Linked DNA regions of Homo sapiens: region 2 is linked to region 1. The links are contacts of gene promoters, found by promoter capture Hi-C in blood cells and fetal thymus (Javierre and others, 2016). All regions are on one chromosome and are shown on one strand. The core of a region is centred on a gene start or on the middle of the fragment in contact, and the rest is flanking DNA. Distances in the headings are between cores, read along the strand shown.

Region 1 (2,907 bases), core at 229-2,728:
ACACACACCACTGCGCCCAGCAAGTTTTTTTAGTTTTTAATCATTGTATTTCAAAAAGTAGTTGGGAGGATTAAATTTAAATTTTAAAAGTAAGGCACTTTGCAAAGTGTCAGCCCTTGGTATGTACTCAATAAATGGTAGCTTGTGTCCTCTCCTGTCCTTCTTCACATCCCTTGGCTTATCATCTGCAAGAAGGGGCAGTAAGGCTCTTTGGTAAGCGGGTTTCTTTGACTGGAATGCCCAATCCTCTACTGCCAACCCTCTATCCATCTATTGTAAAAACTACAGAATTCCTGGCCATCTAACTGGGCAACAAAAGTGAAGGCCAAGAGAAGATACCCAATGCCATCTTCTCCCATTCCAGCTGGAGGACTAAGACTCTAGGAGGCAAGGGGAAAGGGTGTCCTGGCTTTACTGTGAGAACTGGAGCAACTAAATTTTCTTCTCTGGGAGTCAGTTTTCCCTTTAGAAGGAGAGAGCTGGGCTGGAGGGCCCCAGGGGAATATGGATCGGTGGCAAAAAGAATGCTCAGCAAGCAATTTAACTCCTCAGACCGTGCCCCATCTTCAAAATGAGTGACAATAAAATGAATAATTGCACGTGGTCCACAAGGCCCCTGAATTTAAGTAAATCACACAAAGTGCTTAGCAGAGTCCCATGAACATAACGCGTTCCATAGATGTTACCTCTATTCCTGCTATTGTCATCATTCCGACCCTAACATTCAAGGTGTCTCTATTAAGCAAAAGGATTCCTTTGTGAATAATTTTAATCCGCCAATGTACTCAAGGGTCTATCTTAAGCACAGCTCTAGAGCCCTGATTGTAGCGCTTTCCATGGCCTGACGACCAGCTTTCCTGTCTCAAGGGGAAATCTGAGAATGGCCGAACAGCCATGACAGTCCTCTCGAAGAGTTCATTCCCCCTTCTCTCCGCGACCTGCTGAGGTCTGAGCCCGACTTCCCCAGCACGCCCATCTCAGTCACCATTGGTCGCCTCCTCGCTGGCGTGACTAAGACCCAGCCCTCTTCTCGCTGGGACCACTCTGAGGCGATCTGCGGAAGCTGAGGGGCCTCGGAGGAGGGGCCGCGATGCATCTCGGGCTTTGTAGTCCACCTGCACAACTACAGCCAGAGAGCGGGGCCTCACGAACCGGAGAACTACAATCCCCAGCAGCCGGGCGGAAGCGGAGCGAGGGGGGGCTCGCGTCACGTGGGCGTTCGGCCTGGGCGGGCTATTTCTCAGTGCGGCGGCGGCGGCGGTGGCGGCGGCTCCGGGGACCGGGGCCTTTTGTTTGGAGCGGCTGCGGGGGGGCCCCGGAGCGGCGAGGCCGGCGGCCTTCCCCAGCTTGCTCGGTCCCGGCCACCCCTCGCGGGGGTGGGGGGCCGCCCCCTGGGCCGGGCATCTCCTCAGGCGCCGCCGCCCCGCCCTAGGCCGGCCCCGCCCGGCCTGAGGGGAGGAACCGGCCGGGCCTCGCCGCGCGGCCCAGCCACCTCCGGAGTCGCCGCCTCTGCTCTCAGTGCCCCGGATCGGAGGCCGTCCATCGCCCCTCGGGCCGACGCCATGAAGATCAAAGATGCCAAGAAACCCTGTAAGACGGGGGCTGGGGCCCGCCAGGTTGGGAGGGCACCCTTGGGCCCCGTCTGAAAGCCCCTTGGCTGGGCGGTCGGCTTCCAAGCCCGTCGCTCCTCGCCGGCGCTTCGTCCGGTATGGGGGCGGAGGGACCATTTGAGCCACGAGTTCGAGGCTTCCGTCCTCCCCATCCCCCTATTCATGCATGGTGAATGCCTGCCGCCCCCTAGCCTTTCCTCCCACTTTCTCTTCGAGATCTGGGAGGTGCCAGAGGGAATTTCTGATTCTGATTTTTGTCAAACCAGACTAGTCTCCTCTCCCAGCTCCCCCTGAATTCAGGTTGAAAAGAGGCGGTCGCGGCTGTCAGGTTGCGCTGGCGGCTTTTAGCACCTGTTTTTAGGGATTTCCGGGCTTCCTGCTTGTGTCCTTGAAATGCCGGTGGGTTCCTGGGAGTTGTCACTGTTGTTACAGTTGGAGCTTTCAAACGTACGTGCATGCAGTCTGCCAGTGTGTAATTGCTTTGGCTTGTTTTTGTTTAGAATATCAACTAGTTCATGTTTGTTTTAGAAAACGCAGATAAACAAGAAAGATAAAGTCACCCGTATTCCCCGCACCCGGAGCGAACCGCTATTAATATTATGGTGAATACCCGTAGATATTTTTCTATGCATGTACTTAAATTCTGACTATGCTTTTAGAAAGGTCGACTTTCATTTGCTTCCTTTTATGTTTAGTCTTTTAAAAACCTTTTATTCCAGTAATTGACTTATTTAATCACCCAGCCATTGTGATTGTCACTCTTTTTAAGTATAGCCTCCCAGAAGGACTAGGAACGTGGGGATTCATGCTCATCTTAGAGTCGTATTGATACTTTTGCTGTTTTTACAGTGTTTCATGTGATCTCTTTAACTGTTAAGAAATCCACAACTATAAAACAGGGCGCTGACACCTTCCCTGCCCGCCTATCGGGGTTCCTGTAAAACTCACCTGAGAGGCAACAAGCCAAAACCCTGTGAAAACTACAAATTCCTATATAACTGTAAGGTAATTTGGTCTTAACTTCACAGGTGAGGAAATTGAACTTAGCCCCAGAGTAACTTTTCCAAGCATGTACCAACCATGTGCTATGTGGTTCATAACTCTAAGGGGACTGACTCATAATACAGTGTTCTTTCTCTTGCACCCATAGAGCATTGTCTAAGTACTTTATCTGGTAGTTTCATCTGTTAATTAAAATTTTTAAAAAATTATTTATAACTGAATAGATCCTGTCATAGTTGTTCAAGAAATCTATAAAATAGTGATGTGAAGGCTTAAATGAAAAGTAATATAGAGA
Region 2 (2,700 bases), core at 113-2,612, 990 kb before region 1:
TGATAGCCCAAACTCCCACTTCATGAATCTTCTTGCTTTTCCTCCTACAATGATGATTCTCACCTACAATTCTCACCCTGAACGAAAACGCGCTTGCACTTGCAGATGTTGGTAAGGACAATTCCAAAGGAGAGCTTTACCACAAGATTTAACTTCTTTGGAGAGTCTTAAAAATAATTTTTCAACTAGTTGTTCATTTAAAATGCTACTTAATTTGTAGAACAAGTGAACCTTTCAAATTACCTTACAGTTTATAAAGCACTTACAGATATATTATATATTTAGTAGAAGAAAATAGAGGTGTTCCACCTATGGGAAGTGGGCTGTGGGCCACTTAGTCAGATCCCTACTGACTAAGTGAGCCACTAAGTGGGCCCCTAAGTGGGCCACTTAGTCAGATCCCTACTGAGTGTGCAGTATTAATGTGCAATGTGCAAATTTGGGAAGGGAAATTCAGACAGGCAGTATAGCGAAGGAAAATGACGTGGGAAGCACCAGCTCTGAAAGTCCCAGCCTAGCACCGTGGAGTGGGAGGTCCTGCTGCTGGAGCCATACAGAGCTTGATTCTAATCTCAGCTTTGCTCCTCATAGGGTGGAGGCTTTGAAGCCACATTTCTTGGATCCAAATCAGGCTTTCACTACTTATTTTGTAAACTTGGTCAGCTTTCTGGTGTTTCTTATCTTAGGAATGGAGACAATAATACTACCTGATGCGTAGTATCGTGAGGACTAAATGAGATATGATGTACAATGTTGGGAAGGCGCTGGTGCATTTTATGTCTTCAGTAAATATTAGCTATTATTCTATGAGTGACCTTAGAAATGACCAGTCACATGACTGCCCCCTATTCACTGTCCACACATGTAAAAGGGGAAAAGATAATTGTTACAAGGATTCATAGAGAGCATGTGTTTTGTTAATTTAATTTTAACCTTTTAATTTAAAAAATTACAAATGCATGCAAAAGTAAAAAGACTAATGTAAATAACCCTCATGTGCCCATCATCAAGCTTCAACAATGATCACTTTTTGCCATTTTTCTTTCAATTATTTTCCCACCAGTTTTTGTTTCTGGGATGTTTTCAAGCAAATCACAGATAACATTATTTTAACTATGAATTCTTCAGCATGTAGCTGTGGAAGATTGTTTTCAAGATGACCGCAGTGATTCTTCCATGAGCAGCCCCTTTGCAGTGTGACTTTGCAGCTCATCCCATGAGGAAGTAGTCTGTTTCTCAACAACTTTGAATCTGGGTTGGCCTTGTAATGCACCTTGACTAATGAATGTGGCAAAAATAATGTGGGATTCTAAACCCATGCCTTGTAATTCCTAGGCAAAAGAATCGTCTAGCTGAACCTAATCCATGTTGCTGACATTACCAATTCATAAGTAAATAACACCACTAAATTTTGAGTGGTTTACCGTGCAGTGACAGCTAGCTAACATAGTAATGTGTTTTTTAAAATCCCTAACCTGGATCTTTATATATAACGAACATGAAACTTTTAGCTTCCTGTCCAAAGGACTGAACTCACAAGGCATGAGACATTTTATAACCCTGAGGGTGAGTGTCAGTAGCTGGGGTTTGTGTGGAAGTAGTATTCCATGACATTCATTCTAACCAAGAGCCTTCTGTGGCTGAATTATATATTCCAGCTCAAGTTCTAAAGGATACTGATCCTTGGTCTAAGATGATAGTTCCTAAGCTTTACTGGGTTACAGTCTCCTTTGAGAATCTGATGAAATCTATAAGAATTCTTCCCAGAAAAAATAATGTACATGTACACAGCCCCCTTGCTACACACACACACACACACACACACACGCACACACAGATCTCTATCTACCTATAGATTGTGTGTGTGTGTGTGTGTGTGTGTGAGAGAGAGAGAGAGAGAGAGAGAGAGAGAGAGAGAGGCTTGCTTATATCATAGGGTTTATGGACTAGCCAGTGCATGGATACCAGTTAAGAAACTCTACTGGGTGCTGTGGCTCAAGCCTATAATCCCAGCTACTTGGGAGGCTTAGGTGGGAGGATCACTTGAGCCCAGGGGTTCAAGACCAGCCTGGGCAACATAGCAAGACCCCTTTCCTTAAAAGAAAATTTTTTAATTGGCTGGGTGTGGTGGTGCATGCCTGTAGTCCCGGCTACTTAGGAGGCTGAGGCAGGAGGATTGCTTGGGTCCAGGAGTTCAAGGCTGCAGTGAGCTATGATTGTGGCACTGCACTCCATGTACTCCAGCCTGGGCCACAGAGCAAGACCGTCTCTTAAAAAAAAAAGGAGAAGAAGAGAGGGAGGAGGATGAAGAAAGCAGAAGAAGATGAAGAGGAAGAAGGAGAAGGAAGAGGAAGTAGGAGGAGGAGAAGAAGAAAGAGGAAAGAAGAAGAAAGAAGGAAGAAGTAGGAGGAGGAGAAGAAGAAGGGAAGAAGAAGAAACAAGGAAGTAGAAGAGGAAGAGGAGGAGGAGAGGGAGTGGGAGGAGGAGGGGAGGAAAGGGAAGGAGAAGGAGGAGAATAAACTCTGGTCTTACTTGAGCAGACCTCTACTTGTATACCCAAAATTGCATACTCAACTCTAACTGCCAAATAATCTGTTTGCCAGATATTTATTTCCATTGCTGTTGCTGTTGCAGCTACTTCTGAAAGAGGAGTAACTGTTGGTATGGGTTTCTGGCTGCATTTTAGGTTTAGGGTCTAAA

The links. The method cuts DNA at HindIII sites, captures the fragments that hold promoters and counts their contacts. A CHiCAGO score of 5 or more calls a contact.
Region 2: a fragment that was not itself captured here is called in contact with the fragment with the promoter of PANK3 in region 1 in 2 of 17 cell types (naive CD4 T cells and total CD8 T cells); the score reaches 5.8 in naive CD4 T cells.

Annotation. Positions count from the first base shown.
Region 1 is chr5:168,577,939-168,580,845 of GRCh38, reverse strand. PANK3 (pantothenate kinase 3) reads left to right here and starts at 1,478. Exons shown (of 7, transcript NM_024594.4): 1 at 1,478-1,590. The coding sequence starts at 1,563. RefSeq lists a silencer at 1,201-1,530 and enhancers at 1,047-1,590, 1,681-1,750. The HindIII fragment of the contact is 14,951 bases long and covers 1-2,907 here.
Region 2 is chr5:169,567,457-169,570,156 of GRCh38, reverse strand. The region is part of intron 2 of LOC105377714 (a long non-coding RNA gene); the gene reads left to right. Among named protein-coding and RNA genes, the nearest start is that of SPDL1, 15 kb to the left of the region's middle. The HindIII fragment of the contact is 697 bases long and covers 1,014-1,710 here.